7 separate regions of the Homo sapiens genome follow, and all the other regions are linked to region 2. The links are contacts of gene promoters, found by promoter capture Hi-C in blood cells and fetal thymus (Javierre and others, 2016). All regions are on one chromosome and are shown on one strand. Each heading gives the region's core, a stretch centred on a gene start or on the middle of the fragment in contact. The rest is flanking DNA. Distances are from core to core; before and after follow the strand shown. Region 1 overlaps KMT2E (lysine methyltransferase 2E (inactive)). Region 2 holds the start of DNAJC2 (DnaJ heat shock protein family (Hsp40) member C2). Region 3 overlaps KMT2E (lysine methyltransferase 2E (inactive)). Region 4 overlaps KMT2E (lysine methyltransferase 2E (inactive)). Region 5 overlaps LINC01004 (long intergenic non-protein coding RNA 1004). Region 6 overlaps SRPK2 (SRSF protein kinase 2). Region 7 overlaps KMT2E (lysine methyltransferase 2E (inactive)).

The links. The method cuts DNA at HindIII sites, captures the fragments that hold promoters and counts their contacts. A CHiCAGO score of 5 or more calls a contact.
Region 1: a fragment that was not itself captured here is called in contact with the fragment with the promoter of DNAJC2 in region 2 in 1 of 17 cell types (activated CD4 T cells); the score reaches 5.3 in activated CD4 T cells.
Region 3: a fragment that was not itself captured here is called in contact with the fragment with the promoter of DNAJC2 in region 2 in 1 of 17 cell types (naive CD8 T cells); the score reaches 5.4 in naive CD8 T cells.
Region 4: a contact is called between a fragment that was not itself captured here and the fragment with the promoter of DNAJC2 in region 2, in 6 of 17 cell types (M1 macrophages, activated CD4 T cells, total CD8 T cells and 3 more). The highest score is 8.5, in M1 macrophages.
Region 5: a contact is called between a fragment that was not itself captured here and the fragment with the promoter of DNAJC2 in region 2, in 4 of 17 cell types (activated CD4 T cells, erythroblasts, M1 macrophages and 1 more). The highest score is 6.9, in activated CD4 T cells.
Region 6: a contact is called between a fragment that was not itself captured here and the fragment with the promoter of DNAJC2 in region 2, in 1 of 17 cell types (total CD4 T cells). The highest score is 5.5, in total CD4 T cells.
Region 7: a fragment that was not itself captured here is called in contact with the fragment with the promoter of DNAJC2 in region 2 in 5 of 17 cell types (total CD4 T cells, M1 macrophages, naive B cells and 2 more); the score reaches 7.3 in total CD4 T cells.

The regions. Positions count from the first base shown.
Region 1 is chr7:105,059,288-105,063,054 of GRCh38, reverse strand. KMT2E (lysine methyltransferase 2E (inactive)) reads right to left here. Exons shown (of 27, transcript NM_182931.3): 4 at 777-891. Among named protein-coding and RNA genes, the nearest start is that of KMT2E, 47 kb to the right of the region's middle. The HindIII fragment of the contact is 6,535 bases long and covers 1-3,767 here.
Region 2 is chr7:103,342,939-103,346,293 of GRCh38, reverse strand. DNAJC2 (DnaJ heat shock protein family (Hsp40) member C2) reads left to right here and starts at 1,527. Exons shown (of 17, transcript NM_014377.3): 1 at 1,527-1,735. The coding sequence starts at 1,672. It also overlaps a transcript of PMPCB not described here. RefSeq lists an enhancer at 1,345-1,584. The HindIII fragment of the contact is 5,590 bases long and covers 1-2,112 here.
Region 3 is chr7:105,095,393-105,098,714 of GRCh38, reverse strand. All of the region lies in intron 15 of KMT2E (lysine methyltransferase 2E (inactive)), which reads right to left. Among named protein-coding and RNA genes, the nearest start is that of KMT2E, 83 kb to the right of the region's middle. The HindIII fragment of the contact is 1,161 bases long and covers 789-1,949 here.
Region 4 is chr7:105,018,093-105,021,678 of GRCh38, reverse strand. The region is part of intron 1 of KMT2E (lysine methyltransferase 2E (inactive)); the gene reads right to left. Among named protein-coding and RNA genes, the nearest start is that of KMT2E, 5.7 kb to the right of the region's middle. The HindIII fragment of the contact is 1,322 bases long and covers 918-2,239 here.
Region 5 is chr7:104,986,070-104,989,539 of GRCh38, reverse strand. LINC01004 (long intergenic non-protein coding RNA 1004) reads left to right here. Exons shown (of 1, transcript NR_039981.2): 1 at 1-3,470. Among named protein-coding and RNA genes, the nearest start is that of LINC01004, 3.4 kb to the left of the region's middle. RefSeq lists enhancers at 1,533-2,032, 2,033-2,534. The HindIII fragment of the contact is 1,343 bases long and covers 1,052-2,394 here.
Region 6 is chr7:105,115,317-105,118,652 of GRCh38, reverse strand. It overlaps SRPK2 (SRSF protein kinase 2), which reads left to right. Exons shown (of 16, transcript NM_182692.3): 16 at 631-2,279. The coding sequence ends at 815. Among named protein-coding and RNA genes, the nearest start is that of KMT2E, 100 kb to the right of the region's middle. The HindIII fragment of the contact is 3,178 bases long and covers 384-3,336 here.
Region 7 is chr7:105,078,188-105,081,464 of GRCh38, reverse strand. It overlaps KMT2E (lysine methyltransferase 2E (inactive)), which reads right to left. Exons shown (of 27, transcript NM_182931.3): 12 at 2,502-2,619. Among named protein-coding and RNA genes, the nearest start is that of KMT2E, 66 kb to the right of the region's middle. The HindIII fragment of the contact is 1,371 bases long and covers 1,128-2,498 here.

The sequences.
Region 1 (3,767 bases), core at 228-2,727, 1.7 Mb before region 2:
AAGATGAAAGAAGGTATTAAGATGTGAGAATAGAAGTGTTAAAAAAAAAAAAAAGAAAAAGAAAAACACACATCTCAGAAATATGGAGCCTAAAGAATAATAAAACAAGACATATTTATCACTATAAAACATATAATATAGTTTTTTAAATTTAGTAATTTTTATTCTGGTCCAAGTAGTAAGTATCTCATAATTCTACCTCCATAGTATCATAAATGTGTTGTTATGTAATTACGTTTGAATCTAAATGCTGCCTCTTACTAGATATGCAATATTTAATAAGTTAGATAGGCTTTTATTTTCTCACCTATGAAATAAAAGATGAAAACTACATCTCATGAAGTTGTTTTTAATGATTAAATAATATATGTCTGACACATAACAAGGGCTCAATAAATGGTAACTATAAAATTTACTATATAAATTACTATATAATTCAAAAACTAAAAATCAAAAAATTAAAACAAAATTAATTACTATATAATTCAAAATTAATAGTAGGTAGTACAATACAACCTTATCTGCATTCTTTTAGGAAGTAAAGAAATATAATATCAAACTATTAACAGCATAAATTGCAAAATAATAAGAGAAACAGTTCACTTTTATAGAACTTTAATCGCTTAATGGTTAATGAAAAATTAAACGCCTAATTATTTTGATAGTATGAAACAACCATGCTTTTCAAACATGCCGTTTCAAGCACAGTATCACATGCATCTACTTTCAATCTCTAAATTTAAAAATGTTTTTTCAAAGAAGTGTTTAACACTTACCGCATAGGGCAAACCAATGTAACTGTGTGAATGATGTGAGCTGCTGGTATATAACTGGTGGGGATAACTGTTGGATTTCTCAACTACCACAGGGCTAGCTTCTACGGATTCTGGTCTGGGGGGAAAAAGTTGCATCAAAGAGAATTCCATTCTTTTTTTTTCCTCTTAATCAATTTAATTAAAATGATAAAGTACTTACAGCAAAATAATGGCTATACAAATACAGTATCTACTTACAGCAGGTGGATACACTATAGATAAGATATATCCCATCTAGATTATGTGTCATAAGCAAACTTCTGTTTAAGTAAAATAAATGTCCCAATCCAATTTCAAATATAGTTTCCCTCTCTCTCATTAAAAAAAATTACTAGAGTCCAATTATTATTTAATAAACCCTACGGCACTGAGAAAACTAGCAAAGGGGTGCAAAGAAGTAGTAGAAATAATTTAAGCAAGACTAAAACACACAGAATCTATATGGACCTCAAATGGAACTGAAGTATGCATTTCAGTGTTCAAAAATATATGCATGTGTTGAGTGTGACCAGATATTAATATAATAAAGCCTTGGAAATGTCAGTAAACTTAAGTAATAGGAAGTTTCAAAATAAACCAGGATTTATACCTGAAAAAAAACATAAACAGCTATCTGTAAGATGAGCAATTCTGGTCTTAGATGATGGAGACTGATCAACTACTGATACAATTTGCCCACTGTTGTTGACTTACAAGCTCCCTGGCCTAGCATTTTACATACATCACTTTCCCAACTTCTTTACTCTTACCAATCCTCCTGAGCTCTACTTGGTTAATTCCTATTGATCAACAAGGTTGTGAACCTACATCTGAGGTCAGTTCACACTAAAATTAATCTCTCCCTTGCAAATACTCAATAACATGATTTGTTTCTGTGCCTTTATTTTACAAAACTATAACATCACTTGAAAAATTTTTCATGACAATCTTTATCCTACCTCCTATTAAAACTTTACATTAGAACTTAGTACTATTTGCACTATTATTTAGTTTAAGGATATTTAGTGGTTATATTCTGATTAGTCATGAGACTAGCAGCATAAAAAACATTTTTTACAGTCAACTGCTTCTTAATATACTGTCATCCCTTCACGAAGTCTCAATTTAGCTCTCAGTGGCTGCTGTTGTAAGCGCTGTGTGCCAGAATCAGCAAAAAGAGGAGATACAAACTGAGGTTATCTAATGGTTCTAAAGGAGATTGTGAAGAGTCTCCATTATGTTCTGAATATAGTCATGCTTTGCTTAACATTGGAGATACATTCTGAGAAATACATCATTAGGTGATTTCACCGTTGTGTGAACATGATAGAGTGTACTTTACACAAACCTAGATGGTATAGCCTACTATACACCTAGGCTAAATGGCATAACTATTGCTCCTAGGCTACAAATCTATACAGCATGTTATGCGCTGAATATCGTAGGTAACACAATGCACTGAATATTGTAGGTAACACAATGCTAAGTATTCTGTATCTAAACACATCTAAACATAGAAAATAAGGGCTGGGTGTGGTGGCTCATGCCTATGATCTCAACACTTTGGGAGTCTGAGACAGGAGGGTCACTTGAAGCCTGGAGTTCAGGAGTAGCTTGGGTAAGATAGCAAGACTTTCTCTACAGACATTAAAAATAAAAAAAAAAAACTAGCCAAGCGTGTTGGCACACGTCTGTAGTCCTAGCTACTTGGGAGGTTGAGGTGGGAGAGCTGTTTGGGCCTAGAAGTTTGAGGTTACAGTGAGCTATGATCATGTCACTGCACTCTAGCCTGGGCAACAGAATGAGACTCTGTCTCTAAAAAGAGAAAAAAACATGTACAGTAAAAAAACAATAAAAAAGATAAAAAATGGTACACGTGTAGACGGCACCTCCAATATAATCTTATGGGACCACCATTGTATTATGTGGTCTGGTGTTGACTGAAACGTTGTTATGTGTGCATGACTGTACTTTGAAAACCAATATTCACCTGTAATCCCAGCACTTTGGGAGGCAGAGGCGGGTGGATCACAAGGTCAGGAGTTCAAGACCAGCCTGGCCAAGATGGTGAAAACCCATCTCTACTAAAAATACAATAAGTAGGCAGGGGTGATGGCAGGCACCTGTAATCCCAGCTACTTGGGGGCTGAGGCAGGAGAATCACTTGAACCCAGGTGGCAGAGGTTGCAGTGAGCCGAGACTGCGCTACTGCACTCCAGCCTGGGCGACAGAGTTAAGACTCTGTCTCCAAAAAAAAAAAAAAAAAAAAAAAAAAAAAAAAACAACAACAAGAAAATCAATATTCAGCTAATGTCTATGCTGTTACATTAAGAATTATTCATTATTTTAAAAGAAATGTTTCTTAATTTCAAAATTAATACATGCTGATTGTAGAAAATCTAAATATAGCAGTAATAAGAAAATGTAAGACTATGTCTCCACCCAACTCCCAAACATTCTCATGTTAATATTGCCATGTATCTTTCTCTAAACTTTTCTATGCATCATTATATCTACACAATTTTTGCTTTTTAAAATCCGAAAATATATGTATTCATGATTTACTTTTTCCATCTTTAAATGTCAACATATATACTTTATTCTTGGTAATAATTGCTTATTTCATTATATGAATATAAATTTATTTAACAATTTCCCCTACGGGTAAATATTGACATTATTTCTATTTGTCACTATTAAAAGTACTACTGCAAATGTACATCCATTTATCTTTTCTGCATAAATGGTAGTATTTCTATAACATGAGTTCCTGTAGCTACTATTGCTGAACAAAAGGGTAAATGTACATAAAACTGATACTACCAAACTGCCTTTGATTACAACAGTGACACTTTTTAAATTCTTTAAAAATTACACAGAAGGAAGAAGTGAAGTTTTAGCAACGATTTACAGTACTATTATTAAAGCAACATGCAGGAACTGTGGCCAGAGCACAAAGATTCACTCTTAAAA
Region 2 (3,355 bases), core at 278-2,777:
GGGCGTGGTGGCACGCACCTGTAATCCCAGCTACTCGGGAGGCTGAGGCAGGAGAATCGCTTGAACCTGGGAGGCAGAGATTGCAGTGAGCCGAAATCAGGCCACTGCACTCCAGCCTGGGCGACAGAGCAAGCCTCTGTCTCAGAAAAGAAAACAACAAAAAAACAAAAACCCATGTTAGAGTTAATGGTAAAATTGAATGGGAGGAGGTGTGAGGAAAAAAATATATTAATATGAAGAAAGTGGAGTCAGGTTACTTTGCACCTTGGAGCATGTTTTAACAGTGGTTGCATTAGTAGGGATCAGGAAGAGGTTTTGGGGCAGAAGATTAGTTCAATTTTTTTTTTTTTAAAGACGGGGTCTCACTGTTACCCAGGCTGGAGCGCAATGGTGTGATCTCAGCTCACTGCAACCTCCACCTCCCGGCCTCAACGATCTTCCCACCTCAGCCTCCCTTAGTTCAATTTTTGAAAAGTCAGTTTTGAAGTGACAATTTTATCATGCAGCAGATATACAGACCAATTAAATGTATTTAATTGGCCTGGCACAGTGACTCACGCCTCTAATCCCAGAGTTTTGGGAGACTGAGGCAGGAGGATCCCTTGAGGCCAGGAGTTCAAGACCACCTTGGGCAACATAGTGAGACCCTGTCTCTACAAAAAAAAATATACATATATATATATATAATATATTTAAAAACTTTAATTGTGAAAATATAATGAAATTAGTAAGTTATTTTCTAATTTACTAATTTCTGGTGGTCCTTGCTAAAGAGTGGCATATCAAGTTTATTTTATTGAACCTGTTTCAGATACTGCTGTTGGGGGTGAGCCTTTACCCACTGTTTGTTTTTGCTAGTTTTTGCTTTTGACTGCAGTCTTAGAAGGAAGCATATAGTAGGAATACAATTGATTTTATTATACATTAAAAAATTAAGTCCCAGAGTCCTATAATTGGGAATATCTTGAATAAAAACTTCATTAGAACAAGGTAAAAATATTGCTGGCCTTGGAATACAATCTAACACACTAGAGAGAGGTTTCTTCTCCAAGCGAGTATTAAAAGATATAATGCAGGTAAATTAGTAATAGCACGACAAATATTAGCTGCTATTATCATCATCAAGTTAAACACAAATGTATCACAAATACACGTACGTAATTCTCCGCAAATGTATATACTAGTCGTCGATACTGGTTCATACAGGTATTTTCATTTTTTACTTAAAAGTATAGCGCTCCTGGGAAAATCACTGATTAGGTTCAGATTAATACATAAAGCAGTAAGAACTTAAAGATAATATAAAAAGAACTGCTTTTAAAGGTTATGTTCTATGTATTGCACTGGGACGTGGAATATAATCCTTTTTACAGGAAAACTGATGCGCCTAGGAACCATTCTCTCGTGCGACTTGGTCTCCAGCCGGATCTCAGTCAGTATAGAACTAGGTTACCGCACACGTTGGCGGGGGTGGGAGGGTGTGAGACTGGCCTCCACACCACGAAAGATCCATCCCGGAAGTGCTTACTGGTCGTCTCCATGCGCCGGTTCCTGGGCGTCTTAGAGCCAAGGCGCGAGGCTCGGAGTGAGAGGTAGAGCTGGAGGGGACCCTAAGCGCCCTCCGCCCGGGACGTGAGCCGCTGCGCCCACCGGGCTAGACCCGGCGCCATCATGCTGCTTCTGCCAAGCGCCGCGGACGGCCGGGGCACCGCCATCACCCACGCTCTGACCTCTGGTAAGTGCCCACCCAACCTCGGTTCCTTCTCACCTCAGCTGCCCCTGCCTCAGTCCTCCGCCTCGGCAACCCTGGGCTCTCTCTACCCTTGACCCTGGCGACTAGCCCCGGGGCCGTATGGGGCCGTGACGAGTGCCTTTTTGCTCCGTGTTTTAAAGTAATCCTACCCTAGATTAGAAGGAAGGAGGGTGAGGGGTGCCTTCCTTTTGCTCCTACCGTTGCTTCCTCCTCTCGCCGCTGCTGACTCATGGATTGGGCTGAGCATTTCGGGACGGAACCCCCCAGCACCCCAGAAAGGTTCTCATAAGCATCTCCTTGCCTACGGTGGAAAGACTACGCGCAGCGAGCACCCCACGTGCCTGGGGTCGTACAAAGCTTTGCTACTGGCGCTCTCTTAAACAACTTTCTCCCTCTCTACGTTTGCTCCGGCCTTGTTTTTTAAATGTCACAACTCAGACACCGCTCCTCATACTCGGTGTTCAAAGACTGTGCTGCTGAAAAGATCCGCGTAGACTTTGAAAGGCAGTTATTACAAGTGAAACTTGTCCTGCTGCTGTAGGTTTTAGTTTTATGGCCCAGGACAGTCATGAGTATTGTAAACTTAAGAGTCTTCAGGTCCAGTGATCTACAGTAATTCCCATAGCCAGTCACATAGGCGCTTGTTGAATGTGATTTTGAACATAACCCATGGCACGTGTTGCATTTATGTGTCTCCGTGTGCCTCTTACAACTAGAGCAAAAGGCTTAAAAGGCAGTGTTCTTAAAAGCCACACACCCATACTACACAGGTAGTACCTTTTTGACAGTGTTTTAATCCTCTCCTGTGTAAGGTGGAGGAAATCTTAAAATAAGTTGTTCAGGGATTTTCCTTTTTTGAATTGCTAGTATACACATGTACAGTGATTTACCCCCACTTCCCAGGAATAGATGATACCTTTACTACAAGTTTGTAATTTCAGAGAGTTTCTGTGGTCTCATTCAAGCTTCCTAGGAACTGAATGAGATAAATAGGTATTGTTCCCATTTTACAGGTGAAGACATCCTGATTCATTTCAGGTCACATAGCCACTGTCAGACCTAGTCTAAAACCCAGAGTGTCTGGTTTCAGATTGAGAGCTTGTTCCACTACAGCTTAGCTGCATTAGTAAATTCCCATTTGCTGCTTGGAAAATTGCTTTCAGGACAAATTCTTGTTAGTGAATTCTTAAAATTTTTAAGAGCTATATTCAAGATTTTAATAATTAAGACAGTTTGAGTTGTCTGGGTGCGGTGGCTCACGTCTATAATCCCAGCACTTTGGGAGGCCGAGGCAGGTGGATCACCTGAGGTCAGCAGTTCGAGACCAGCCTGGCTAACAGGGTGAAACCCTGTCTCTACTAAAAATACAAAAAAGTAGCTGGGCGTGGTGGCGGGCGCCTATAATCCCAGCAACTTGGGAGGCTGAGGCAGAAGAATCGTTTGAACCCGGGAGGCGGAGGTTGCAGTGAGCCGAGATTGCGCTATTGCACTACAGCCTGGACAACAAGAGCAAAACTCCGTCTCAAAAAATAAAAAGATAGTTTGAGTTGTTTTTAGATTTTTTATTTTTGGTGAGGCTAGCTCTTCGTGACAATTTATCAC
Region 3 (3,322 bases), core at 120-2,619, 1.8 Mb before region 2:
AAAAAAATTTAGGCTGGGCGCAGTGGTTTATTATGCCTGTAATCCCAGCACTTTGGGAGGCCGAGGAGGGTGGATCATGAGGTCAAGAGATCAAGACCATCCTGGCCAACATGGTGAAACCCTGTCTTTACTAAAAAAACAAAAATTAGCCAGGTGTGGCACGCGCCTGTAGTCCCAGCTACTCAGGAGGTTGAGGCAGGAGAATCACTTAAACCAGGGAGGTGGAGGTTGCAGTAAGCTGAGATTGCGCCACTGCACTCCAGCCAGGTGACAAAGCAAGACTCTGTCTCAGGAAACAAACAAAAAAATTAGTGGAACATGGTAGCATGCACCTGTAGTTCTGGCTACTCCAGACACTGAGGCAGGAGGATTGCTTGAGTCCAGGAGTTGGAGGCTGCAGTAAGCTATTGGTCATACCACTGCACTCCAGTTTGGGCAACAGAGCGAGGCCCTGTCTTTATCTAAAAAAAAAAAAAAAAATAGGAAAAGGAAAGCCAGAGCCCACCTACAAAATCACCCTATTCTTCTTTGGTCTTGAAATAGAGAAATTAAATGATTCCTTGCTCAAAAAAACTTGTTACCCTTTTATATAACAAAGATAAACTTATAAATCTAAAAAGATGGGTAAGATTATTTGTTACTAATAAAAATCATTCCAAAATAACACGTATGGCTTGTGTGGTGTCTCCATTTCCTCTATCATGTGATGATGGAATTTATACTCATGGCACTCTTTATTATTTTGATACTCGTTTGTTATTTCCTCTACCCCATTCTCTACGAAAGCTTTTCCAGAGCAGTGACCTTTCCTTCTTTGCTCATCCGATATCTCAAATGGCAAGCACTCACATTGTTTTTAAATGAGTAAGAACCATGTGTACATTATGTCAAGCACGTATCACGTTACTTAAAGACATGTAACTAACTGGAAGCATTTCAACAATTTTGGAAATCTTGAATTTATTAGAAGGCAGTTAAAGCTGATTAACCTCATTTTGTTTGAACTGAGTACCTAATAAAAATAGGTGGCTGGGCACAGTGGCTCACGCGTGTAATCCCAGCACTTTGGGAGGCAGAGGTGGGTGGATCATCACAAGGTCAGGAGTTCAAGACCAGCCTGGCCAACATGGTGAAACCCCATCTCTACTAAAGATACAAAAAATTAGCCAGGCGTGGTGGTGGGCACCTGTAATCCCAGCTACTTGGGAGGCTGAGGCAGGAGAATCACTTGAACCCGGGAGGCAGAGGTTGCGGTGAGCCAAGATTGTGCCACTGCACTCCAGGCCTGGCAACGGAGTGTGACTCCGTCTCAAAAAAAATGAAAAAAATAATAAACAGGTTCCCTTTCACTAACACCACAATGTCATTAATTACTTATCTTTAGAAATAAAATTCCCAGTCTCTACAATTAGAGAAAACAGGACCTTACAAAAAAAATCAGCATCAACGGAGGACAGAACAGGGAGTTGGATAACATCTCAAATCCTGTCACCAGATGACTTTTCTGGCAACAAACTTATCCTATTTTATTATTAAAGCATTGCATATTCTAAAGTGATTTTCTAAATGAAGTCAGTCAAGTTTTCCTAGAGACATTTAGTAACAGCATGGATTCTGCAGTGTTTTCCCACAGAGTCTGTTCCACTGAATAACACTCTGTGGGGGTCAAAGGTGTTATCCACAAGAAACTGCAAGGGTATACAAGTTTAGGAAAATCTGACAATTGTGTCAAGTTTTTAAACACATGTACACTGGTAATCTGAAAAGGAAGAATATAGTATAGTGCTCATCACAGTAAACTGGTCACGGCTCTTTTTCACAAAGCATCTCAAATTATACTTGCGTGGAATACTTGATGTGAAGGATGAAAGCCGAGAAAATTGTGGGGAATCCTGCACAATTCAGGGCAAGGCCTCCAGATCATCCATTACCTGAACTACAGGGAAGCTTCATTCAGTTCACATTCATGGGCCTGTATCTGTCTGTCTATCTTTCCTCAAGTGGTTGTTATAAACATTCAGTTAGCTCATTTATTGATGGTCTACTTTTTTGCCCACCATTTTTTATTCCCCTAGGAGCTAGGGCTACAACAATGAATAAAACTGAAAGTTTTTTCCCTCATGAAGTTTATGTTGTGGTGGTATAAAAATTCCAGACTAGACTATAATACCTGCTTGACAAGTCCAGGAATCTCTTGCCTACGTGACTTCCTTGTCATACCCTTTCACCGTTTCTCAAATGTCCGTCCTTTTAAATATGAAGACCACACTGAATCATCTTCTGTGGACTCAATTTTAAGCAATCTGATAATATAGGCCATCAAATATTACCAAGATTGTATTCCCAAAGTACATTATGAGGGTTATGAAAAATTATTTTGGAAATATTTTAAAACTACAAAGGAGACAGTTTTCATGCCATTATAAATGGGGGAGGAAGTGTCTTTTTTTTTTTTTTTTTTTTTTTTGAGCCTTTCACTGTCACCCAGGCTGGAGTGCAGTGATGCCATCTTGGCTCACTGCAGCCTCCTCTTCTGGGTTCAAGTGGTTCTCATGCCTCAGCCTCCCAAGTAGCTGGGATTATAGGCATGTGCCACCATGCCTGGCTAATTTTTGTATTTTTAGTAGAGATGGAGTTTTGCCATGTCACCCAGTCTGGTCTCGAACTCGTGGACTCAAGTGATCCACCCACCTTGGCCTCCCAAAGTGCTGGGGTTGCAGGCGTGAGCCACCAAGCCCAGCAACAAGTCTCTTTTAGTATTTAAATCTTTCAGAAGTTTGCTGCTTTTAAAATGATCACTTTAAGCTACAGGTATACCCCCCAGTATCTAATCCCCTTCCACATGTACTGTTTATATGAGAAGATTACAGCCATCTAGCCCCACCTCCACAAATATACTAGGAGGACACTCAGTAGTGCCCTGGTTTTTGGAATCTAGTGAGTATAAACAGTCTACTGTATTTCAGTCTACTGGGCTTATGGTAAGATTTTCCTAACGTACAATAACCATGCAGTTCCACATAACTTAGCCACAAATTTGCTTTTGTAAAAGCAGGTAACGACTTCTTAAGGATAAAAAAGACAAAATATCATGGATGGAAAAAGAAAATGTTCATAAAAGAAAAATCCAAAAGGCCAAAAGGGGTAGAGGTAATGGAACTGGAAATGAAAAGGCCTTCCATCTTGGCCACATAAATATTCTTTCATGAAATCTTCATCCCTGAGTATTTTGTGTGACCTATAGCCAACTTTATCTCCCTAGTAGCCCTCTCCTCCTCCAAAAACAGCCTATAATCCCAACCAAATATATTTACAGCTCTCT
Region 4 (3,586 bases), core at 329-2,828, 1.7 Mb before region 2:
AACCATGAACACCCACCCCACCACCATCTCTCTAACTAGTCTCAGATAATTAGAGGGGATCAAGATGGTGAATAGTGGCTCTTTGACACCTTGCCAATTCCTGTGAGGCCCATCTGTACTTTCTTCAAATAAATTATGTGAGATTTCCCTATAGCCTTATAACAAATCCTTTATTTAAGCTAGCTAGAGCTGATTTCTGTTCCTTGCATCCAAAAAACTCTAAAACAGCAGGCTTTTAAGAAGGTGAAATAAACTACGGGTTCTCTCAAAGCAGGGACAGTCTCATCTCTCTCTGCATCTGTGGTGCCAGGAAAATAATAGCTACTCAAATTCATCTTTTGTCTGTGCTTCAAAAATATTGTTACAGCGAAGGCTTAATGATGTAAGATGTAATAAGCCTGTGTCAAGGCAACCAATTAAGCAACTTCATTTAAAGAGAAGAAGCAGAGACTTATTTTCTGGGTAAGAGTTACTATGTATCAGACCAACCTGAGACCCCTATTTATGGCTACTGGACCACAGTCCTAACCATTCAAATTAGTCACATCATGAATCTTCCCATCTCAGCCACTTCATTAAAGAGGAAATGGGGTTTTCAAATTCCTGAACGCTGTCTTTCTTTAAATGTTACATAAAGCAAGATGGTAAGAGGAACTGGAGATATCTCTCTGTAAACTCAAAAATAGAAACGATTACATATATTAGTCTCTGAAATAAGAAAACAAAAATATTAGAAGAGTGTATGTTTCTCATACACATTCTCTGAAAGACCCAAACTATGTTTCCCTGACAATATCCTAAGTGGTAATGGTTAATTCTTTTCTTTTCACCATATTCCTCACTTTTTACTAAAAACCACTGACACTAGGCTTCATCTTAGGCCAAACGGTAAGGAAAAGATATTTAATCTTTAAGCTTATTTAACTCAAATAAGTTTAAAATAATTTATAAGTGTAAATTTTTAAGACTTTAAATGGAAATTATTTTAAATACCCTATGAAAACAAAAGTCAACATAAATGAAAAAATTTAAACATTTTTGGTCTCAGATAAAACATGAGACAGCATAATTACATAAACTTTATTTATTTTTTTAGAGATGCAGTTTCGCTCGTTGCCCAGGCTGAAGTGCACTGGCACGATCTCAGCTCACTGCAACCTCCGCCTCCCAGGTCCAAGCAATTCTCCTGCCTCAGCCTCCCAAGTAGCTGGGATTACAGGCACCCGCCACCAAGCCCAGCTAATTTTTGTAGCAGAGATGGGGTTTCACCATGTTGGCCAGGCTGGTCTTGAACTCCTGAGCTCAGGTGATCCACCTGCCTCAGCCTCCCAAAGTGCTGGGATTACAAGCGTGAGCCACCATGCCAGGCCAAGTGAACTTTAAAGTTGTAAGTACCACAAACCAAAACTAACTCAATCCACTATCGTATGCTAGACAGGCATGACCTTAAATGCTGCAACCAAGTTGGCTATTACACAGGTGTGATTACACAATATCATCTTTCTCAATATTAAAATTCAGGACCAAGAATTTTTTTTTTTAATTTACTTATTTACTTTTTTTTTTTTTTTGAGACAGAGTCTCACTCTATCGCCCAGGCTGAAGTACAGTGGCACAATCTCGGCTCACTGCAACCTCCGCCTCCTGGGTTCAAGCAATTCTCCTGCCTCGCCCTCCTGAGTAGGTAGGATTGCAGGCACCTGCCACCACGCCCGGCTAATTTTTGTAATTTTTAGTAGAAATGGGGTTTCACCATGTTGGCCAGACTGGTCTCAAACTCCTGACCTCAAATGATCCGCCTGCCTCGGCCTCCCAAAGTAGTGAAATTACAGGTATGAGCCACCGTGCCCAGCCTATTTTTAATAATTAATATCTGATATGTCCTAGTCTTCTGAAGGAATGTTTCTTCCTTTGGATTAACTCTAAATTAAGCAGCCTAAGAGGTGCTAAGAAATTACCTCTGTCCAATTGTCGTAAAAATAAAGCTACATAGATCATTGCTTATCACGTTGACCTGCATGCAGATCCTTTCTAAACCCAGATTTCATATTTGAAACAGTTTTGAAATACAAAATATTTTAATTAAAAATGATGAACAAGTAGTTTACACATATTATAGGTTAATTATTTACTCATTAAAAGACGTAGTGTCTGTTTTGATGGCATCTTAATGCAACACATCAAAAAAGAATTCTTTGTTGACCTGTTGCATTGAAAATGTCCAACATCCCAAAAAGCTTAAATAGTTTTGGTAAATAACCAAACGAGATTTCCAATAAAACTGTAAAATTCACCTAACAATAAAAAAAGTTTTTCTGTCCAAAAATAAAATCCAATTATGAGCTGTTCATGAGGGAAAAAAAGAACTGATTTCATATCAAGTGAAAACATGTTATCTCGTGAAATATAAGACCAACTGCTTTTCCTGACTCTGATTTAAGTAAAAAGCATCCTAGTTACCAATGGTTAATAAAAACTTCTTTTATCCTTAAAGATATGAATTAAAATCTAATTAACTTACTCTGGGTCACCTTCATTTGATTTTTAATGTAGCACTTAGCATGGAAGTTCACAATAACAAAAAAACAATTTGTTTGCATCATAATATGGTTAATTCTTATCTCTTGCAATTGCTATTAAAAATATTGCAATTGCTATTAAACAGAGTATTTTATATAAAGTAAAATACTCATTTTATATTATACAAAGTAAAATACTGTTTATTTTATATAATGCAAAATACTCATTGTTTAATAGCAATTGCAAGATTTTTAGTTAAATACCATCCACTTCCAGTTTAGTGTAGAAAACAATTTCAACAACAAATACTGTTCCTCCATGTTAAGTAAATTTGTAGGTAATACAAAAAATTATTCTTTCAATGTCAAGAAAAAAATAAGGCTCCTCCCAACATCTGCACATTACAGAACAGGTAGTAAATACGAGCCACTTCAATTTTAAACCCAGCCTAAAAGCCAGTAACATTCACAGAGTAATATTTCAAATAGTATTCCACTCGTTAATTTGCCAGTCAACATAAAAATTAATTTTACCATAAAATAATTATATTTTCAATATTAAAAAGTCTCATAGATAATCTATCATGAAATTGGGGGAAACAAGTCTCACAGAATACAAGTATTTAACATTTATTCTAACACATAACAGGGAACAGTCCCTGATCACCCTACATATTTGAGATGTAAATGTGTTTGCTTCAATAAAAGATTCACATCCAAGAAATAATTAAGCACCTACCATCTGCTAAAAACAAATCCTTTGGAGATAAAAGCTTTTACACATTATTAAAATATTTTTAAAATAGTAAACATAAAATAGCATCTGTTGAGAAAACTGCATACTAGTATTTCCTAACCAGTTTTGATAGCTCTTCAAAGTTCTGTTAGTTTTACACATTTTAAACACACTATGGTTGTACACATTTAAGTCCCAGTAGTAGTAGCTTCCAGAAATGCAGAGCTGTTAGGGTTTACATAAAACACACCTTTAAAAATTAAACCACAGGTTTCTTTAGAAGATTGATGAATGAAAACGAGTACATTATTCTTGGAAATTAAGAAGCCAA
Region 5 (3,470 bases), core at 474-2,973, 1.6 Mb before region 2:
GAGCAGATGTGTCTATGGGCTGTCACAAATATCAGTCTTGCTATGTTAAGCATAAACTTAACAAATATTAGTGGAGACACACTATTTAGGATTCGCCTAAAACCCTCTAAGATAGAGGTCCCCAATCCCGGCCCCTGATCGGCCGCACCTGCAGGAGGTGAGTGATGGGCCAGTGAACATCATAGCTGAGCTCAGCCTCCTGTCAGATCAGTGGCCGCATTAGATTCTCATAGGTGTGAGAACCCAATTGTGAAGTGCACGTGTGAGGGATCTAGGTTGTGCTCTCCTTATGAGAATCTAACTAATGCCTGATAATCTGAGGTGGAAGAGTTTCATGCCAAAACCATCCCCTTGCCCTGTCCATTGAAAAATTGTCCTCCACAAAACGGGTCCCTGGTGCCAAAAAGGTTGGGAACCACTGCTCTAAGGTGTCCAGTGTTGGCTGACCCCTCTCCCTACTTATGCACCCATTGGCTTGCCTAACAGCTGATTGATTTCTGTTTAAATAGACACAGTATATTGGGGCAGTTTATTGCATCTTTGGTCATCTCTTTTCCTCTGGGTCCCTAGGACGGAAGACAATATCCTAAGTTGATTCTGTCTAACAAAACATGAGTAAAATGAGGAATTGGTTAGGTAGGTGGCAAACAGCAAAGATTATATGGACTTGTAGCTTGCTCCATAAGTAGACTTTAACCAAGTAAGCTATTTGAAAAACAATCTTAATTTTTTTCAAGTGTTATTTTTAATTCTATAGGAATATTTTCATAAAAATAATGATGTCCATTATGTTAGCAACTAGAATTACAATGGCAAGTTTTAGGAGATGCTTGAAATGTGAGATGTTACATTTAAAACTATAAAGTTATCGACCTAAGTATATGATTGTACCCATGTGGCAGTAAACTTAAAACTTCCAGTTTCAGGTTTTGTTGTTTGTTTGTTTGTTTGTTTTAAAGAGTTGTTAATGGGGGAAAGGAAAGGAATATGTGAGGGAGATTGGCTTGCAAAGCCTAAAATATTTCTTATGTGGCCCTATATAGAAAAAGCTTGTGTATTCTGGACAAGAGCAATTAAAGGAAATAGTTTGGACTTAAAACTTCTAAAAATAAATAGTGCTCAAATTGCACTTGGAAGTCAGAGACCTTGCTGGTCATCAAAGGGTTCAGTTCAGTCAGTAGTTAGAAAAGACAGAAGCCAGCTTAGCCAAGAGTCAGAATACAAATATTCAGAACCGATTAATAGGCAAATAATTATATATACCATGTCCCAGCCAGTAGATGGAATAATATGCCACCATTAAATTTATATTAACATGTAAAAATGTTTGGAGTTTAGGGCTCTTTACCCATATCTTAGTGACATAGGAAGAAAATTAAGATAAATCACAAGCAACTAGAAAATAGACATGTTAACTTTATTTTAGTACATACTCTGGTAGGATTTTTACATAATCTTACGTACTAGTCAGCCTTCTTAGAAGTGTCACATAGTCAATATCCTTAAAGAGAAATGGAAGCTAATCAGGTAAGTAAATTGTGAGCTGAGGCCTACATCATGCTTGCTATTCAAAGAGAATAAAGTAATTGGATAAATGATAATGCCTCCTTGTTGGGAAAACAGTCTTCAAAAATGGCACTAAGTTACAGTTCTAATGCAATAGAGTCACTAATTACTATGAATACTTGTTTTACTTGGCAGATTACTAACAAAGTTAATTGGATACAATAAATGTAAAGATTTTCTTTTAAAACGACAGATTCTTCAGTGAGGTGTAAACATTTTATAGAACAATTATCAAAGCTATATTGGACTTAAATATTGGTCATGAATGTATGCACACCCCATAGGTAGCTGCCCTCCTTGGGCAGCTTTTGACTCCTATGCCAAATTTTAAAATAAAGGCCGTGGCCAGGCGTGGTGGCTCATGCCTGTAATCCCAACACTTCAGGAGTCCAAAGCGGGCGGATCGCGAGGTCAGGAGATCGAGACCGTCCTGGCTAACACGGTGAAACCCTGTCTCTACTAAAAATACAAAAAAAAAAAATTAGCCGGGCGTGGTTGCAGGCGCCTGTAGTTCCAGCTCCTTTGGGAGGCTGAGGCAGGAGAAGGATCTGAACCCGGGAGGCAGACCTTGCAGTGAGCCAAGATCGCGCCACTGCACTCCAGCCTGGGCAAGAGCGAGACTCCATCTCAAAAAAATAAAATAAAGGCCATATGTTTAATCACATTCCCCAAAAGGAGAACTTCATAAGGCACTAATGAGTAATGTTTATTTTACGAATGATTTTACGGGAAAAATTACAGAGGATGTTTAAATTGCAAAAATACTCCTCCCCTTTTTTCTCCTCCACCGCCCCCCAAAAAAAATCCTTTGCAGTTATCACCTAAGCTTTTTGGGTGTGTGATTTAAAAAAAAAAAAAAAAAACCACAAGACCTACCTTAACAATTTAAGTATGCAGTATTGTTTCTTCTCAGCTGCCCAGTCTTTGTAATTCTTATTTCTTATGCAGAACAATTTAGCATTTGACCCTACTATCACCAAAAAAAAAAAAAAAAGAAAAAAATATATAGCAGTTGAGGGCAGTATACAAGCTTAGTAAGTATATTCTGGTACTTGCTTAGGAAGTAGGAAATGTGATCAGATTCTGTTCTCTACCATATGACACTGATTTGCAAGGCCCCGGGTACAGGACTACTGGTAAAAAGAACCCTGTAACTTCCTGTCACAGAGGGACACAGCAATATATATAAAACAGCATCTGCCGTAAATCTTTGGGGAACGTCTTACTAGATTTAACCAGCTAATTTTACTAGGTATTTAGGAAAGTGTGACTGCAGTTCAGGGTCTTTGTTTTTTCTTTTAAGACAGGGTCTGGCTTTGTTGCTCAGGCTGGAGTGCAGTGGCATGATCAAGGCTCATTGCAGCCTCAGCATCCCTGGGCTGCAGCGATTCTTCCACCTCGGCCACCCAAAACTGGGATTATGGGTGTGAGCCACCACACCTGGCCTCTTATATCTTGATTAAGGTCCTGTCTGGGCCTACAAAGGTTCAATTTGCTTAACCCCAGCACTTTCCCTCAACATGGAGGTCCTTAGTCAACATTAACCAAGGTAATAAAGAGTTGAAAGTTTTAATCATAAGTAGGTGGAGGAGCATTTAAACTGGTTTAATAAACTTGAAATATGAATACCTTAAATATTCGAATAACAAAGCACTGGTGAAACAGGTTTTTCTATGGAAAGACCACAATTTTCTATCCAGCACATTTCATTTGACTGGGTTCCTTTGTTTCTGTAATAAATAGGACTTTGAGAATTCCAAATCAAATTTGCACTTTTGCACAAAAGGTTCACTTGGTGACTCTCATGCCTCCATAAGTGTGTTCCATCTGATTCTGCACAACCTACTGCCTTCAGGGTATCCTGGGACCAGCCAAAGAGATGATTCCAACCAGTGGAATCATCA
Region 6 (3,336 bases), core at 723-3,222, 1.8 Mb before region 2:
AGCCACTGCCCTCAGCCCTTTATTGCAGTTTTGACTTAAAAATAACCTTTTTTTTCTCTTATGAAATGACCATTACAGCTCGTAGGCCATTTACTAGCTTGTTAGTCATTCTGTTATGTCAACCAAAGCTGCCTGTAACCGACACTTTTCATACTGCAGCTAGCACAGTTTGTGAAGTATAACTTCAAGGTTTACAAATTAATGTCCTAGGATCTTAGATCTTACAACAAATGCGTAGACATGAATGGTGTTTGATTTGGGTTGGCCTCAAGTTTGCAAATTTTACGGAAGATCCCAGGTTGAAATGAGAGTGGCTTGCTTCAACCTTTGGAAAAGAAAACACTCTGGGCAAACTGAGCCCACTCCACTTACTTAAAGAAGCTTAGAACTAATGTGAATGAACTATTAATTAACCTCTATTTAGATCCACCAGGCTTACTTGAAATATGCCTTGGTCATATGTACATGTAATGATTATTGCTTAGTGGGGAAAAGCTGGTGTTCTTTGTTGTTGCTGTACAAGTGTTGAGCAGGTGGTTGTCCGCTTCACTGAAAAGAACCTGACTGGACCAACAATGGGGAATGCAGATTTGGAGCTTTCTTGACATTGGCCTGTTTTTTCCCCTGTAGGAGAACTGCGACACATCACCAAGCTGAAGCCCTGGAGCCTCTTTGATGTACTTGTGGAAAAGTATGGCTGGCCCCATGAAGATGCTGCACAGTTTACAGATTTCCTGATCCCGATGTTAGAAATGGTTCCAGAAAAACGAGCCTCAGCTGGCGAATGCCTTCGGCATCCTTGGTTGAATTCTTAGCAAATTCTACCAATATTGCATTCTGAGCTAGCAAATGTTCCCAGTACATTGGACCTAAACGGTGACTCTCATTCTTTAACAGGATTACAAGTGAGCTGGCTTCATCCTCAGACCTTTATTTTGCTTTGAGGTACTGTTGTTTGACATTTTGCTTTTTGTGCACTGTGATCCTGGGGAAGGGTAGTCTTTTGTCTTCAGCTAAGTAGTTTACTGACCATTTTCTTCTGGAAACAATAACATGTCTCTAAGCATTGTTTCTTGTGTTGTGTGACATTCAAATGTCATTTTTTTGAATGAAAAATACTTTCCCCTTTGTGTTTTGGCAGGTTTTGTAACTATTTATGAAGAAATATTTTAGCTGAGTACTATATAATTTACAATCTTAAGAAATTATCAAGTTGGAACCAAGAAATAGCAAGGAAATGTACAATTTTATCTTCTGGCAAAGGGACATCATTCCTGTATTATAGTGTATGTAAATGCACCCTGTAAATGTTACTTTCCATTAAATATGGGAGGGGGACTCAAATTTCAGAAAAGCTACCAAGTCTTGAGTGCTTTGTAGCCTATGTTGCATGTAGCGGACTTTAACTGCTCCAAGGAGTTGTGCAAACTTTTCATTCCATAACAGTCTTTTCACATTGGATTTTAAACAAAGTGGCTCTGGGTTATAAGATGTCATTCTCTATATGGCACTTTAAAGGAAGAAAAGATATGTTTCTCATTCTAAAATATGCATTATAATTTAGCAGTCCCATTTGTGATTTTGCATATTTTTAAAAGTACTTTTAAAGAAGAGCAATTTCCCTTTAAAAATGTGATGGCTCAGTACCATGTCATGTTGCCTCCTCTGGGCGCTGTAAGTTAAGCTCTACATAGATTAAATTGGAGAAACGTGTTAATTGTGTGGAATGAAAAAATACATATATTTTTGGAAAAGCATGATCATGCTTGTCTAGAACACAAGGTATGGTATATACAATTTGCAGTGCAGTGGGCAGAATACTTCTCACAGCTCAAAGATAACAGTGATCACATTCATTCCATAGGTAGCTTTACGTGTGGCTACAACAAATTTTACTAGCTTTTTCATTGTCTTTCCATGAAACGAAGTTGAGAAAATGATTTTCCCTTTGCAGGTTGCACACAGTTTTGTTTATGCATTTCCTTAAAATTAATTGTAGACTCCAGGATACAAACCATAGTAGGCAATACAATTTTAGAATGTAATATATAGAGGTATATTTAGCCTCTTTTAGAAGTCAGTGGATTGAATGTCTTTTTATTTTAAATTTTACATTCATTAAGGTGCCTCGTTTTTGACTTTGTCCATTAACATTTATCCATATGCCTTTGCAATAACTAGATTGTGAAAAGCTAACAAGTGTTGTAACAATAATCCATTGTTTGAGGTGCTTGCAGTTGTCTTAAAAATTAAAGTGTTTTGGTTTTTTTTTTTCCAGACATTGCCTTGGTCATTGCCCTATAAATGATAGAATCAATGAACATTTGCTATCAGAGTAGTGTCACTAAAACTAAATACCAGCATTCCTGTTGCAGCAGATGTAGTTGTAGAACATGCATTGAGGCGTATTATAAGGAAATCATTTATTGTTTTTTAAGGGCAGAAGGGATTTAGGAGAAAAGCTACAGTATAGATTGATTCTCTAGAATATCAATGATCCCTTTTCATCCATGGTTCATCAAAAACATACTAACTGCATTTGTTTGATCATTGCAAATTTAAAACAAAACAGCATTTGCTGTTAGGAAACAAGACACATAATCCTCTTAGGAATTACCATTATATCACATTACCACTGTGAGGTAGAATGGATCATTCATTAATTTCTTTATGAAATTTGCATGCTAAGTTTTTCTAATGAGGCTGTAGGTTTCCATGTAAATTCTGTGATAGATAGTGGCTGTAGACTGGTGATGCTATCCGTGATTTCTATGAGAAACATCCTTACAAGAACCATAGGGCATAATTTATATCTTCCCTAAGTGTAAAAGGATTTTTATCAGGGTGATAGTATACTTGAATGAAATTTGTCTAATGCAGTTTTTGCTTATGTTGGAAAATAAACTAGATTATGAATTTTTACAGGTGTGTCCCTTATGATAAAACAGCCTAACTAGTTTATAATACAGAAACGGTTGTTCTAGAAGGAATATACATTTGTATTAGGCATAATATGGCTTTATCAGATTCTTGGCGGCTTGTTGATAAAGAATGCACAAAAACTAAATGAGAACCACTGGTTATGCTAAACATTATAACTAGCTCTCTGACTTCAATTGAATGTCCTATCTATCTTTTCCTTTCTGTAGTCCATGTGAAATCTTCATGGAAAATGACAAGCAGTGGATCACATATGTGTTTATAGCAGATACAGGAGCTGGCTATCTAGAAGTTGGCAGACAGAACTGCCCAAAGGCAGAGAAAAGGTGGATATAAGATCTTCCGAGTCATAAACTTCTTAGGTGAAAACCGATTTACTAACTTGCTTCTTCCCAT
Region 7 (3,277 bases), core at 564-3,063, 1.7 Mb before region 2:
ATGTGGCATCAAAATAATAATAATAATAATAATAATAATAAAAATACTATATTTCATCAATTCTTCTTATTTTTATTTTTTTGAGACGAGTCTCACACTTTCGCCCAGGCTGGAGTGCAGTGGTGCGATCTCGGCTCACTGCAAGCTCCGCCTCCCAGGTTCACGCCATTCTCCTGCCTCAGCCTCCCGAGTAGCTGGAACTACAGGCACCTGCCACCATGCCCGGCTTATTTTTTTTTGTATTTTTAGTAGAGACGAGTTTTCACAGTGTTAGCCAGGATGGTCTCAATCTCCTGACCTCATGATGTGCCGGCCTCGGCCTCCCCAAGTGCTGGGATTACAGGCGTGAGCCACCGCACCCAGCCTCATCAATTCTTTTTTTTCACCTTTTAGCATCTCTGAAATCAGGAGTCTTATAACTGGTGGCATCTTAGGGTTTTTTGTTGTTGCTGTTGTTGTTTTGAGACAGAGTCTCACTCTGCCATCCAGGCTGGAGTGCAATGATGCAATCTTGGCTCACTGCAACCCCAACCTCTCAGATTCAAGTGATTCTCCTGTCTCAGCCTCCCAAGTAGCTGGGACTACAGGTGCGTGCCACCACACCTGGCTAATTTTTAGTAGGGATGGGGTTTCACCATGTTGGTCAGGCTGGTCTTGAACTCCTGACCTCAGGTGATCCACCCACTTTGGCCTCCCAAAGTGCTGGGATTACAGGTGTGAGCCACTGTGCCTGGCCTTCTTAGGTTTGATGAGTGCAATAATGGTTGAGCAAACGCTACTTTTCTATGACAAGACACTATTCTATATACTTTATATGTATTAACTCCTTCAGTCTTCATATCACCTTTTTACAGATAAAACTGAGGTTAAAAAGCTAGTAAGTCACAGAGAAGAAATAAATTTAAGTCTGGTTCCAAAATCTGTACTCTTAGCTGGGTGCAGCAGCGCATGCCTATAATCCCAGCTACTCTGGCGGCTGAAGCAGAACAAACACTTGAGCCCAGGAGTTCCAGGCCAGCCTGGGCAACATGGCAAGATCCTGTCTTTTAAAAAAAGAAAAGAGAGGAAAAAAAAAAAACACCTACATTCTTGGCTGCAACATTATATAATTACAAAACTAAAAAGCTTCATTTTGACATGTAAAAAACAAAACCAACACGATTTTCTACTCCACACTAAAATATAACATTATTAAAAATTTTACAGTAGAACATACAAAATCTACTTTAGATTTTAGCTTTGTCATCTAACTTAAATCATCGCATGTATTGAGCCATAAATAGAGCTTCCAAGATAGAAGGAAAGTCGTCCAGTATTAGGCTGGACCTGGTGGCTCATGCCTGTAATCCTAGCATTTAGGGAGGCCGAGGCAGGAGGATTGCTTGAACACAGGAGCTCCAGACCAGTCTGGACAACATAGGGAGAACCCAACTCTACAAAAAATTAAAGAATCATTAGTTGGGCATGGTGGCACGCACCTGTGGTCCCAGCTACTCAGAAGTCTGAGGTGAGAAGATAACTTTACCTCCTAAAGGCCCAGGAAGTTGAGGCTCCAGTGAGCCATGATTGCACCTCTGCACTCCAGCCTAGGCAAGACCCTGCCTCAAAAATAATAATAATAATAATAATAATAATGATTTAAAAAGTCCGGGCAGGCTCATGCCTGTAATCCCAGCCCTTTGGGAGGCTAAGGCAGAAGGATCACTTGGCCCAGGAGTTGGAGACCAGCCTGGGCAGCAAAATGAGACTCCATCTCTGCAAAAATTTAAAAAATTAGCTGGGCATGGTTGCACACGCCTGCAGTCCCACCTACTCAGAAAGCTGAGACAGGAGGATCACTTGAGCATGAGAGGTCACGGAGGCTGTAGTGAGCTGTGCTCATGACACCACACTCCAGCCTGGGAGACAGTGAGACACTGCCTCAAAAAAAAAAAAAAAAAAAAAAAAAAAAAAGGAAGTCCAATATTTCCTCTTATAAGGAGCATCATCATTTCTTCAAGGTGCAAAGTAATTTTTAAGACTTCATAGCGGCCAGGCATGGTGGCTTACACTCGTAATCCCAGCATTTTGGGAGGCTGAGATGGGCAAATCACCTGAGGTCCGGAGTTCGAGACCAGCCTGGTCAAAATGGTGAAACCCCGTCCCTACTAAAAATGCAAAAAAATAGCCGGGCATGGTGGTGCGTGCCTGTAATCCCACCTATTCGGGAGGCTGAGGCATGAGAATCACTTGAGCCCGGAAGACGGAGGTTACATGAGCTGAGATCGTGCCATTGTATTCCAGCCTGGGCAACAAGAGTGAAACTCCGTCTCAAAAAAAAAAAAAAAAGACTTCATAGCCAGTTATCACATAAATTTTCACAAAAAAACAGGCTGGGCAGTATAAAATGCACCAACAGGTGGAAAGTGTCTTAGGTCAGTGACCTGAGTTTTGTGCTTATTGCTCAGATTCCAACACACCCCCAGCACCCACATCTCCCCAAAAAATTTCTATAAGCTTACCTCTGCATTGGGTGTACAAGACCGCCTGATGAATCGAGCCTCATTCCCAAAAGTCCTTGCATCAACACACATTTCTAGCCCATGAAATTTAGAGTAGAATAACACAAAAGGGTATGGTCTACAAAGAAAGAAACATTATAAGCTATTAACATTTTAGGCCGGGCATGCTGGTTCACACCTGTAATTCCAGCACTTTGGGAGGCCGAGGCAGGTGGATTGCTTGAGTCCAGGAGATCAAGACCAACCTGGGCAACATGGCGACACTCCGTATTTACAAAAAAAAAAAAAAAAAAAAAAAAAAAAAAAGGCCAGGCATGGTAGCATGTGCCTGTAGTCCCAGCTACCTGGGAAGCTGAGGTGGGAGGATCACCTGAGCCCAGGACATCAAGGCTGCAGTGAGCCATGATCATGCCTCACTGATAGAGCGAGACTGTCTCAAAAACAAACAAACAAACAAAAGTCAACATTTTAGGACAATAATCTGTTACTCTTCAGAGGCAAAGTGATGAAGAAACTTAAGAACACAGAGTCTAAGAAACTTCTAAAAGACATAGTGAAGCCAAGATTTGAATATAGGCAGTCTGACTCCACAATTCACTCTTATCTTATGCTAGTTTATGCTAATGAGATTTTTACCTGCCCCATAACCTCACCTAAATCAAAGGCAATTAATGGAAGGTAGAAATTCCAATTTACAAAGAAAGATAAAAAGAGAGTGACTACTGCATTCACAAGATTAATTTGATGTCTTTAGAGTTCACATTTCCTGGTGCATT